Linked DNA regions of Homo sapiens: all the other regions are linked to region 2. Evidence: promoter capture Hi-C in 16 types of primary human blood cells and fetal thymus (Javierre and others, 2016). All regions are on one chromosome and are shown on one strand. The core of a region is centred on a gene start or on the middle of the fragment in contact, and the rest is flanking DNA. Distances in the headings are between cores, read along the strand shown. Region 1 overlaps RGL1 (ral guanine nucleotide dissociation stimulator like 1). Region 2 holds the start of APOBEC4 (apolipoprotein B mRNA editing enzyme catalytic polypeptide like 4). Region 3 overlaps COLGALT2 (collagen beta(1-O)galactosyltransferase 2).

Region 1 (4,336 bases), core at 1,726-4,225, 260 kb before region 2:
CATTTACAAGGGAAAAGTAGGTGCACACAAAATTCTAAATGAGGAAAATATGTTTTTGATAGTATGAAGAAAATACTCCCAAAGCTGGGTCACACTGGACTAGTAGCAGAAAGCTAAAGGAGAAGACCTCCCTTCAGGGGATGCATGTCAGGCTAAGGTGGGTAAGTCATATGAGACAGCCAGGCTACCTTCATTCTCCTTTCCTTAAACTTCCCCAGGTATGTCCCAATGAAGACAAGATGACCAAGGGCTTTCCCTTGCGTGTTTATTACTTTGTACCATCAAAGCGATGCTGAATCAAACTTATGATTACAATGAGTATTCACAGCTCAAGCGTGCATCCTTATGCTGATAGACTGAATTAGCACTCATAGGTATCGAATGTGAGCCACATATTTCATTTTAAGTTTCTAGTAGCCACAATTAAAAAGTTTTTAGGACGGGTGAGGTGGCTCATGCCTGTAATCCCACCAACTTTGGGAGGCCGAGGCAGGTGGATCAGGAGGTCAGGAGCTTGAGACCATCCTGGCCAACATGGTGAAACCCCGTCTCTAATAAAAATACAAAAAAGTTAGCCAGGCGTGGTCGTGGGTGCCTGTAATCCCAGCTACTCAGGAGGCTGAGGCAGGAGAACCGCTTGAACCAGGGAGGCAGAGGTTGCAGTGAGCTGAGATCGTGCCATTGCAATCCAGCCCAGGCAACAGTGCAAGACTCTGCCTCAAAAAAAAAAAAAGTTTTTGAAAGGTGATATTTAACTTGAACACCCCAAATATTACATCAGCATATATAATCAATACAAAAATTGTTAATGCAGTATTTTACTTTTTTGTACTAAGTGTTCAAAATCTGGTATATATTTTACCCTCAGCTCATCTCAATTTGGAGTATTCCCATTTCAAATGCTCCATCGCCACCCGTGGCCAGTGGCTGCTGTACTGAATGCGCGGTACTGAACGATGCTTTGGTGTCGCCCTCATTGACTTTCCTGTGACAGAAATACTGCATTCCCTGTGTAAGGGATCTTGGGAGACTGACTCTGTGATTGACACAATGGAGAGAAAGATCATTTCGAAAGAGTGATGGGTTCAGTGGTAGAAGACATTTTTCCATGGTCACTGAGGAGGTAATTTTACAAGGGCTAATTGCTGTCTCTTCTTCTATGGAAGGGCCTTGGATTCCAGGGACATTAGTTGCTCTTGCAAAGCAAGTTCTCTAGGCCACCAGTTCTCAGTGTGCAATCTATGGCCCGTGGGGTCCCTGAAATCTGTGAGGGGATCCATGAGATCAAAATTATTTTCATGATAATACTAAGATGCTGTTTGTCTTTTCTTTGTGTTGACATTTGCATAGGTATTGCAGAAGCTATGGTGGATGGAATTGCTGGCACAACAGCACAAATCGGTCCAGTGGTTTCTAACTACAAATCTACTAGCTGTCACTGTATTCTTCAGTACCCTGTACTCACAGTAAAAACAAAAACAAAACAAAACAAAGCCAGTCTCACTCACATTTTAACAGACTTTCAGAAATGGAAAACAATGCCACACTTCTCACTCAATAATTTTTGGAAAAAAATAGATATTTTTCATTAAAAAATAAAATTTACATTAACATGCAATGTGTTCATTATTGTTATTTTAAATGAATTAATCAACATTTTGAAAGTTTCTCAGTTTAAATATCTAATGTGGTAAATATCAACAGATACAACCCACATAGTCTGGAGCTCTTTGGAATATTCAATGCTGTTTCAGAGTATAAAGGGGTCCTGAGAACAAAAAGTTTGAGAACTGCTAGTCTCGCCTGAACCTGGACTGATTTATTTCCATCTTCTGGTCAACAGCACACAGCATAATACATTTCAGAAAGGTACGTCCTGTGAGCAAGGTTTCTCCTGAGAGGCCTAACGATTAGAATGAGAGCACGAGAGCAGTGTGTCGTCTCTCCAGAATAAGCCTGTGACATGCGCTGGCAGGATTTTCATGAAAGGTGAGTGCCACCACCTGGTGCAATATAAAGGGCCACAGGAAGGGGTTGGCAGGAGAGGTGATTCTCACAGAGGCAGCCCATTTGCTGGGGAAGGAGGAATCTCAGAGCAGGGGGCAGGGGATCTTCTGCTCACTACCCTCCCAACACTCAGACAGCATGCACAACCTGTGACTCCTCCTGGGCAGTAGAGGTTTGTGCAGTCCAACCACTCACAGTTCCCCCCAGACTGAGCAGAGTGCACGCTGACCAGGCATGTCCCAAAACATAACTGTTTGGTGTACAAATCCATGCTATAATTCAGAGACACTGTAGAGTTATGCAGTGGACATTCTCTCTGATTGGTGCAGGTAAGAGGTGCCAGGTGAACAGACCATGCTGAGCAGGCAGTAACCACATGGAGGACCTTGGCTTCCCTGTGTTTCCTCTACCTCTCGGGTGCTCCTTTATTAGCCCCTCCCTCATTACCACTTGCATTCTGCCTCATCCTACACTCAGTCTCGCGAGACCACGTCCCCCCTGTGGGGTTTGACAACTCCCAGTATTTGATCTCAGCACCAGCCTTGCACCAGCCCATGTTTCTGACCATCTATCAGACAATGCCATCTGATGTCATACTGGTACCTCTGATTTAAATGTCCCTGAATATCCTCCTCTGGTAGTTCATATCTCACAGACCCACCAACTACCCAGACAGCCTCTAGTCCTCCACAACAGTAACCAAAAAGTTGGTAACTAAATGAATGGATTCTACAATTCTACCTCATCAAAAGCTTTCAAAAATCCTCACCATCTCCAGCCACATGACCGTCATTCAAGCCCTTATCCTCTCCTACATGGAACATGATAGCAGCTTCCTAACTTGCTTCCCCGCCTCCAGTCTACCCCGACACTCCAGCAAACACAGTGCCATGACTTTCTTAATGAGCAAATCCCATCACTACTTAAAAGCCTTCAACAAGACCCTATTGCCTGCGGGATTAACACACTCCTCTGTGTGGGCCACAAGGCCCTTTACCACCTGATCTTGGCTCTATTATTTTGCACATTGTGAATAATGCTTTGTGGGCTCCCTTTCTAATTAAAAGTTCCTCAAAGGCAGAAATGTCTCACTCATCTCCCTATCCCCAAAGCCTGATCTAATGACTAGAACGCAATAAATGTTTGATATTTTGTTGACTCAATAAATGCTTTAGCAAAGCTTTTATGTGGAGCCTCCATACCACTTATGCCATATTCAGACCTGAGCTTGTAAGCACTGAGTGTGCCTTCAAAGAGGCGAGTGATAAAGATGAGGAGAGATGTGGAATTAGCTGTGGGATTTTGCTGCAAAGGATAAAGTGATTTCCAATACATGATTATCTCCCATAAACTAAGGAGTTTATATTCTTGTGATAAACCTACCAGACCTCACATACCCAAGGTTATCGCCATGAGAGGCTCTGTGTGTATTCCCAAAAGACTGCCATTATTAAAAATATCTTTGCAATTGTCCTCAGAAACACACAGATTTTACAAGAAGCTCAAAAAGGTCAGTCTCATTTTATAGGCATCGTTCCTCATTAACCCAAACTGTATTTCTAGCTTGATCATCCACTTTATTAACTAGGTTTGATCCAAATGACTAAATGACAAAAATCTGCCATCAGGGGAGTACACTGCTAAGAATGTGTGGAAATTCAATGATAAAACCAGACATATAATTCCATAGGAAGGCTTCCAAAAATGTGTGAGGTTGTGTCATCCTCCCTGGAGCACATTTACACTGTCACCCAAATTGAGAATTTTCAAATGGCTAATACTGACCTAAACGAATAAGTTTTAGCATTTCTTTAAGATGTGAAAATTATATCCTATATACACCATGTGTGTGCATATATATGTATATATATTTTATATACATATATCATTCAGCATCTATGCCCAGGGAGACCTGGAACTGACACACATCCCTTCTGTGTGAATGCATATATGTATATGCTAATATTGAGTGTGCATATTTAGGGCTATTAGTCTGAGCGGCCGACAGACACAGACACACAATCTAAATGGAAACCCGCTCCTGGGTCAGGGCTTGCTCCTCACCATGATGCTCTTGTACATGTTGCCGTTATTGTCTTCCACACTGATGCGGATTATGCAGGTGTCTTCATTCTGTTGGTTGTAAACAGGAGGCAGCACAGTCGAGGTAATGGACGTCACCGAGACAGAGCGCTTGTGGATTTTGGGGTTGTTGTTGCAGGACGGAGGGGAGGAGAGGGGGTTGATTAAGGAAGACATCCCTGAGGAATTTGTGTCCATGGAATGGATAGAAGAACAGGATGAGGAGGACTCAGAGAGCTGGAAGAGT
Region 2 (4,280 bases), core at 1,746-4,245:
GACCAAAACTTTAGGCATTGAGGTCACTCTGTTACCATCATAAATGTACTTATTTGGTCTCAGATCCCACGGGGAAAGAGCAGAACAGTTGGTTTTTAAGGTGGGAACATGGATTTCAGGTTACTTTTTTGTAAGAGTTAGAGAGCCAAGGGGACTTCCTTGTGCCGGAATCTCCTGTTTTCATGAGAAAAAAAAAAGAAAAGAAAAGAAAAAAAACTTGGTCTGCTTTGGGATCTATCTGTTTCCTTAAAATTTTAGTTTATGTCACATTTAGCATGAGTGACTCCATTTTGGTTTGGTCTGGTCGGCTGGGGCCTAGTGTACAAGCTTAGCCCAAAACAATGGCCTCCCATCACTGTTTAACATATGGTTTGGAAATGTCAATTGGTCCTTTCCCACAGAGAGTTGGAAGCCTTCTTTAGAGCATCTAAACAGTCTCTGGAAGTAAAGATGCTGCCTTTACCCTATACTTTTCCTCAGCTTAAGTTTTAGGAGTCATTTTTAATTCTAAACATTTGCTGCTGTTTCCCCTAGGATAATGAGGAAAATCAACATGGAGGAATTCTAAGAGAAAGTCTGTGGTGTTAGCAAATTAAGGGTGGCCCTACAGAAAGCTCTCTGCTGTTAAGACTGTGCTGCCACCTTGTGGCCATCTTGTTTATAACCCCCCGAGCTCGAAGATCCACCCTCTGCTTTTTCGTCTCCTTTTGGTCTCAACTCCAGTGCTTTTCTTATCTCATCTTTCCCATCTAACTCCTTAGTGAGCTCCATGAAATCTACTTAATCTTCTGATCTTTACTTGAAGCTTGCTTTCTAAATTCAGTTCCTTTTATCACGTAGTTTGTTACTGCTACATGAATTTGAGCATTGTTGTTCAGTGTCAACCAAACTGCTACTAAAGTGATGAATTATATAATTACTTGGGTACAGTAGGTTCAAATAAAACTTTAACATTTTAGCAATAACTTATAAATATTTTACTTCCTGCCACCCAAAGAGAAAGTTGCCTTATAAGCAGTAACTAGCAACACACAAGCCATCTTGGATATACCCCAAACTGGGTTGTCAGAACATAGATTAATAATTTTTGGAGTGCCAAACTGAGTAAATGTCTCTTAAAAATTTAGATCATTGCAGGATAGTTTAGTCTTTGTAAATCTTCTTCATTATAATCTCATAATATCTCTACATAAATAATATACATCATAACTCATCTGAATGAAGATGAAACATGGCAGATTAACAAAGGAAGACAGAAAAGAGAAGAAAGGAGTCTGTTGGGGAAGCTAGACATTTCTTCCAAGCATCTCCTTTCCAATACATGTCAATTTCACTGTGAACAGGAACCATGGTAAAGGCCTTTCATTTCCTCCTGATGAAGTTTAGTCTTAAAAGTCATTCTGTGCAACCTAAATGGAATGTTGCCAACTTAACATTCCTTGGAGTCTTCCTACATCTAACAGACAACTACCTTTAAAGAATAATGACTAATTGGGGTTGCCTATCCCTAAAATCACCCTAAAATGCAATTGATAAATGTGCTAGTGGACAAAGGCTCATTTTTCCTGTTTCTTTAGGCTTAACCTTCCATAGGTATATCATTTGCTGAGCATCTAATCCACCATGGAAGGTGCACAGTGCACATGGGATGCTGGTGCAGATTTGGGGACTATATTTTTTGTCTTTTCCTCCCCTCACTGGAACCTGTCAGACAGCTAATACTTTCTTACAGAACTGAGCAGGCCCTCAGAACTTGATTCTTCAGCTAGCGGGAGAAAAACCCCAACATGTTCTCTTCAACAGTCAGCTATTATCCTTTCACCCAGCTTTTGATAAGTAATATTTTTAAAGTAATGTTTGCAATAGATTGTCATTTATTAGGATTAAATAAAAGATGAGCTATGAGGATTGACTTTCAGTTCCATATTTACAAGTTCATTCAGTTAGAAGATGCAAGCAATGAGAAAAAAGGGATGACCCATGGCAAACTGTGGGGAAGGGACAGGATGCAGCAGTGACCATGTGCCAGAGCAAGCACCAAGGAAGATGAAACTGAAAATAACCAGCTGAGGAGTTCATGAATACACCTGAGGCCCTTAGGAGACAAAAACATCTCGTCTAGTAGGAGCACTCTGGATGAGAAAGGATGTGTGCTGTGGTGCAGACTGGAAGTCTGACAGTGGAAACAGGCGTGGCGAAGCTTCGAGAAGACAGAAGGTGCCCTCTGGGTGCTCAGTATCCCTGAGTTATTTTTAGAGTATGTCTGCTTACAGCCAATAGTTATTACTGGAATGTACACAATAGCAATCCCCACTCACTCCTTCAGGTGGCCTGGGAAAGGGGAATGAGGGAATAATCCAGAGTGATTGACAGTGAATTGTGACTATCAATGTGCCTTGTGTCTAGGAGATGATGTGGGGGTCAAGGGAGACTAAGGAAAAGAATGGAGAAGGACAAGTGGCTCTTCCGTTAGCCACAGAGAAGGGGCTACAACCGATCCTGGAACAAATCTTGTCTTAAACTGGAGGGAACCACATACATACCAATAGCAAGAGTCTTCCAGGCAATTTCTAAGAGGAGGGAAACCGCTAACACATAGCCTAGGTTTAGACAGAATCAAAAACACCCCCTTCAGGGACTATGGGCCTCTTGGAGGAAGTCAACTCTCTGCTCCCTCTCACAGAGGGCAAGCCTCCCAAGGAGAAGCCCTGGCACCCACGCAGGCAACAGAACCGCCAGGCCTGGCACCTACTCTAGACCAGGAGAAAGGTGCTGAGGAGCAGGCCCTCAGAACTTGATTCTTCAGCTAGCAGGAGAAAAACTGCAACATGTTCTCTTCAACAGTCAGCTATTATCCTTTTACCCAGACTGGGATATGCAGTCCTGTATATTTTCATCTTTGGAACAGGTGGCTTGATATGCAAATAAAGTAATAAGTGTCAGAGCTGTATCCTAGCAGTAGCTACTTTGCAAACGTTACCATGGCACCCAATCAACAGTGTTCTTAGAGGTAGCCACACCTCAGCAAGGGCTTTCTAACTTGGAACAGCAAAGTTCAAATGAACGAATAGACACAAACTGTGAAAGAGTCCTGAACCCATTACAAGGTGAATCTTTACAGCACAATTGCCTTCTGAAGCTACTTGAAACAGGGCATGGGACTTAAAGGAGAAAAAAAAGGAAATGGACCATCTCTTCTAACACCTGGAATGTGATCCAAGCCTGGAGACAAATTGATGGTAATTATAACTGCTAACATTTGTTTTTAGCTGCTAACAGATTGTGCACAGATTGTGAAGGGCAAACTCCATTCTCCAATTACTCCAGTGCAAACTGTGCTTTAACAGTACTCACTAAATCCTAGTTGAGTGAAATGAGAGCAGATTGTCCTTATGGTGTGGTTCATTTATGTTAAACTATGGAAAGCTGTCCTCCCACGGTCCCAGTCCAGGGGCCACTCACAGCCAGATGCAGAGAGCCCTCCAGCACGCTGGGCTCTACACATCTCTGTTCTTACTGCCAGCAAATCTGCTCTACAGAGTATAACATGTATTTCCCAAGCACAGACAAAGCAAAAGGAAAAGGGCTAGGCAGGAAGTAGGGACACCAGCTGCTGGGGAAACAAGTCTTAAGCAACCTGGCTTGTGAGCCAATCAAGGTTGCTAAGGTAGGTCCTGGGCCTAAACAGGGTACATTTCCACCTGGTTGGGGAGAATAAAATGACAGATACCAAAAGTTAACAAGATAATCTGTGGTCGATAACAAATTGATACAATAAACCATGAATTCTCTAAGAGTTCAAAGAGGGCAACAGTTCTTTCCTGCTTCCTCTTCAGATGAGGGTGATCAAAGAACAAGCCCAGAAAGACTCTGAAAAAGTGAAAACTTCACCAATAGGAAACTATAGTTGGTTGACACTGAAAAGTTGTCAGCAAGAATGAGACTACAGAGCTCCCTCCACTATGTGTTAAAGCCACAGTCCTCTCCATCTCCTTAAAGACAGTAATGATGTATCATTTCTGGCTAAAACAGCCACAGAAGATGGGGGTGCAAAGGAAGGCGTGCTTAGAAAAGCAATAGGGAGTTTCCATTTTGCTACCTTTATCTAAAAACACACAAAGACTTTTGTTTCCCAAAAGGGTAATTATGGGACCATTATATATAGTTAACTCCACATACACATCACCTTAAGAAATAGTAATAAAGACAGAAAAGTGCCTTTTGGTTCTGTTTCCATAACATTTAGCCAAATCAATCTGTAAATTGTCTATGGGTGAGTT
Region 3 (4,402 bases), core at 732-3,231, 280 kb before region 2:
GTCACAAGTCTTATTGAAAAGTAGATTTTTTAAAAAAAAAAAATCTTAGTCCCTGTTATCCAGTAGGGGTGGGTATTTGGGTCCGACTGAGACTTGGCCTGTGACCATCATGGCAGTTGGAGTTCTCATATAGAGGTGACCAGTTTGCCATGTGGATATAATTTAGTAGATATTTGACAGTTTGTGTAGGTATTTGAGGGAAAAAACTCAATGTTTGGCTTTTTTATTATGGCCACTCGAGTCAGGATGCTCTATTTATAAAGATAAATGTAATATATAAAGGGTGAGGACTGGCTGTGCATCCTGCCCTGTCCCGGGTTTGCGCGCTGCTACAGAGCTTCACGCTCTCCGCTCCACCCCTTAGCCTGGGAACCCACCGCAGGTGTGAGTTCTGTGAGTCACTGCTAAGAGACAGAGCACATTTTCAGGCCAGCAACTATCCTTGCCAGAGTTTTTTCATTATATTTTGAATTATTTATTTTACAAAATGGGCGAAGATATTGTCTTTAGGATAAGGCAGAGAAACAGATGTTGCAGACTTCCACGGCACCCGGGGGAGTGGTGGGTGTGGACACATTGGTTCGGCAATCTGATTCTCCTGAATTTCCCAGCCAGGCTCTTGTGGGGAGGCCTGTGGATGGGGGGATTTGAACTATTTGGAAACAAATGATTCTCTATCTCAGGTGAGAAACCTGGTCAGAAACAAAGGGCTGGTCACCTGATTTAGGCCAGCAACCAGGGAAGCTCTTAGAATCCCAGGCGGACACCCTTTCTCAAAAGATATCCCCTAAGAGTCCTTTCTGCTTTCTTCACAGATTGATTTTATGTAAAATGCAGAGTTGGACTACACGATTTCTTCCCACTCCACAATCTGTCATCCTAGTATAGATCATGGTGGTTTCCCTCAAGTTTATGTTCTCATGCCCTCAATCTGTAAATTTTTGTCTCCAGAAAAACCCTCCCAGGCATCCCATACCAGCACCGTTCCTCATCACTGTCCATGCACCATGCAGCCATATGGGGGGCCGTGCACACCCCAAACCCTGAGCTTCACACTTAAACTCATGGGGAGGGCCCTTCAGAGCAGAGTCCACAGGCGGGTGGTGCTACATACACAAGCTTAGTGTACGAGTGTAAGATACACTTTAAGCCAGACACCTAATTCTTCAGTTCACTGCCCATGTGATACTGATTGCCACATTAAGGTTGAACAGCATGGCTCAGAGTCTAGAGAAAGTGATCACCAAGCTGTCTCATCACCAAATAGGTAGTCAAGGCAGCCTCATCTCCCCAGGTGAGGGGCGGGTCCCCACTTTAGGACAAGAGGCAGCTTGCCTTCCACCAGACGCCAGCCTCGGCCTTCCTTCCCGACTCACTGTGGGTACCCTTCTACACTGACCAGCAAGCTAGGCCGCTGGAGGAAAGGGAACTCACCCAACTCTAAATTGTGCCGCTTAGACTTAGCTGTCAGTGTGACTTCCTTTCCCACCCACCCCCAGAAAAACAGAAAGAGCATCTGGGGAGCGAGTGAAAATTCCTTAGGTGATTCCTAAGATTTCCTTGGGTATCTGGTTTTTGTTTTCATATTTGAGTGTGTGCATGTGTGCATGACTTTAATGACTTTTTTAATGGGGTGGGAGGTGGCTGGGGTGCTGGGGTTGAAGGAAGTTTGGGTTGATTTTTGTGGTGTTTTGTTTAATAGAGAATTTTTTTTTTCCTGTTCCCCTGTCAGCTGGTCTGACAGATTTAAGAACTCTCATTCTTAAAAGACTTTGGACTTAAATTCTAGCATTTTAGACTAGGACTGTTCTACTGTGAAGAAAGTTCTGTCTCCTTTAGCCCGGTTTGTTTCTCCCTGCTCAGGTCTAGAATCCCAAGCAGTGTTCTTTTCTGGTGAACACTGTGAGCCGCAGATGTGACTTTTTTTTTAAAGTCATCTCTTCAGCAATCCAGAGGTTCCTTGACCTCATTATTTGTCCTATCTCTCCCTTATAGTCCTAAGCCAAGACATTTGACCTTTGACATTTGACCTTTGCAGTGTCATGTGAGGGCGTCAGTATAGAGGCCTTTGCATCTGGGCCTGGCACCCGCTCTCTGCCTCTGGAGGCTAAACCCTGTCTGGATTTCTCTTGGGATCTAACGTGGGATCTTCTGGACAGACAACCGTGACATCAGCAGTGCTGGTGCTGCTGTGTGTGGACTGAACACCTGCACTTTGCAGAGGACACGCTGCATGGGCCCCGCTTGCGGTTCATTCAGGCCTGCTGCAGGAGCTCTGAGAACAAGAAAGAGTGGACACCCGTTCCCCTGCATCATCTGTCTTGCGTGCTATTTCAGAGTGGGGAAGTGATAAACTATTTGCCTTCTGGAGCTCTTTGTGAAAAATTAAAAAAAAACTTAGCTCAAAGATATGATTGTCAATTGCTTCCGCAGGCACTGATCAATGGCCAACGCTGCAGAGATTACCAGGTCTGCCCTTGACCAAGGATGTCAGAGTCAGGGGGAACCATCACTGCTGTGTGATCCCCATGGCAAATGAGGGGAGGGTGGTTGCTGCCCTTACTGTGCAGTGAGGGTTGTTTTAAACTGATGGGTACTGTTATGTAAGCTGAAAAGGATTCCAAGGTACAGAAAGATGGAAGAGAGCCCCCACTGGGAGGGAGTGGAGGTGTCCATCTTGCATTTTGTGCTACAGGTCAGCCTATCCGTTCATCAAAAGATACTGAGATACTGTGATACCAGTCCAAGGCCAAAGAGCTTTTTCCTGGGGAAAAATAACAGCAGCAACAAAAAGAAAATCCTTGTTGATCTCAGTGACTGCTTGAATTTTTAGATCAAGCTTACCCCTAATCTCAAAAACCAGGCTGTGAACACTGCCTTGCTGCAGGCTTTGTGCTGGGCACTGAGATGCTCAGAGAAGTAGGTAAGGTCCCTACTGCTGTGTGGGGCCCGCAGTCCAATGGAGGAGCAACATAAAGCAGGTGGCTGCCAAACAGGATGGTTTTATTTCAGAGATGAACAAAATGGGCAGAGGAGGACTGTCAGGGCAGCTCTGCTGAGAAGGTGACATTTGGGTTGGGTTTTGGAGGATGAATTGGAGTTCAGAAGAGGGAGGAGGGCTGGGCACAGTGGGTGGAGATGCTGTCCAGGCATTGCCTGACAGGACTATGAAAGGGCCAAAGTGGGATTCATGGGAACTCAGTAGGGCAGAAGAGTTAGGCATGTGTTGGGGTTGATAACAAACAAGACTGAGACACAATCATGCTGGCAAGGCAAGTTGGCTGCCTCCCTCTCAGGGCTGTCTCCTTCTCAGGGCTGTCTCATCATAAGCACAGAGCCCAGCATTTCTGGGAGAATTCTAAGTTTGGTTACCATCTTGACAGATAATACAGAGGCTTCCAGTAAAATGTTGATGTCCAAAACAAGAAATATTCCCACTCAGCTACAAATTTGGGAATCTTATGGTTTTTCCCTTATGATTGGAGCAAATCCCTCCCGCTAGTAACTATAAAATAAAGATGTGTCTTCCCAGGAGGCTTTCTATAACGTGCTTTTGAGACATTCTTGCCAACTAAACAGAGGAAAGAAATGATCCAGAAGTGATCTCCCTGACAGAAGTTAATTCACTAAGGAGTTAAATAATGACAAAGTAAAGTTAAAATGAGGCTGGCTATATGAGAAGAAAATAGCATGTAAGGGGTGACACGTTCTGAAAACTAAGAGTAGACAGCTTTGGAAATGTCACGCCCACATGATGTTTTGTGGTGATGTTTATTATTTCAGGGGAACCGGCTGTCCTTCAATTAAATGCAGCTGAGGGAGGAAGGCCAGCAGGAGAGGAGGGGCATATGAGGGGCTTCCCTGTGAGCCCGCGGCCCTAAGTCAGTGTAGGGCAGCTGAGACAAGAACCAAAGTGTGGACAATGTCCTTTTGTACCTGCTTGGAGAAGAGAGAAGTAATGATGGTAGATTTTAGTACATTATATTACAAAAGATTACGTGAAAAATGGTGCTCCCTCTTATCCCAGGGACAGAGCAAGAGGAGTTTAGGTGAGCTTTCAGGAAGAATTCATTGACAGAATTGTCAGACACTGAATGGGGTTCCAAGGTAAGTGGTGGAATGGCTCCATTAAACTTTGTTGCTGGGCAGAAGAGTGGCTTCCTTTCTGCTCTGTGAATTACTGAAATGCCCTAGTATTTTGCTTCCACCCATGGATGTGCTAATATGTGAGCTGATCTTTGTTCAGTAGCCTCTGTGACACCAGCTGTGTTGCTTCCAATCCAAAGCCATCCATCCTCCCATCTGCCCTCAAAAAGAGTGGAAAGAATGAAGAATCGTCTCTGAGGATTGCCTTCTCTTTATTTTTAATTTATGGAGTTTGTTTTTATGCCCGTCCCTGTAA

The links. The method cuts DNA at HindIII sites, captures the fragments that hold promoters and counts their contacts. A CHiCAGO score of 5 or more calls a contact.
Region 1: a fragment that was not itself captured here is called in contact with the fragment with the promoter of APOBEC4 in region 2 in 16 of 17 cell types (megakaryocytes, naive B cells, naive CD8 T cells and 13 more); the score reaches 38.5 in megakaryocytes.
Region 3: a fragment that was not itself captured here is called in contact with the fragment with the promoter of APOBEC4 in region 2 in 16 of 17 cell types (naive B cells, naive CD4 T cells, M2 macrophages and 13 more); the score reaches 12.5 in naive B cells.

What each region holds. Positions count from the first base shown.
Region 1 is chr1:183,916,437-183,920,772 of GRCh38, reverse strand. It overlaps RGL1 (ral guanine nucleotide dissociation stimulator like 1), which reads right to left. Exons shown (of 18, transcript NM_001297671.3): 16 at 4,072-4,326. Among named protein-coding and RNA genes, the nearest start is that of RGL1, 110 kb to the right of the region's middle. RefSeq lists a silencer at 1,798-1,987. The HindIII fragment of the contact is 428 bases long and covers 2,762-3,189 here.
Region 2 is chr1:183,652,031-183,656,310 of GRCh38, reverse strand. It overlaps APOBEC4 (apolipoprotein B mRNA editing enzyme catalytic polypeptide like 4), which reads left to right and starts at 2,995. Exons shown (of 2, transcript NM_203454.3): 1 at 2,995-3,239. It also overlaps a transcript of RGL1 not described here. The HindIII fragment of the contact is 5,397 bases long and covers 2,203-4,280 here.
Region 3 is chr1:183,933,839-183,938,240 of GRCh38, reverse strand. COLGALT2 (collagen beta(1-O)galactosyltransferase 2) reads left to right here. Exons shown (of 12, transcript NM_015101.4): 12 at 1-2,407. Among named protein-coding and RNA genes, the nearest start is that of COLGALT2, 100 kb to the left of the region's middle. The HindIII fragment of the contact is 1,720 bases long and covers 1,122-2,841 here.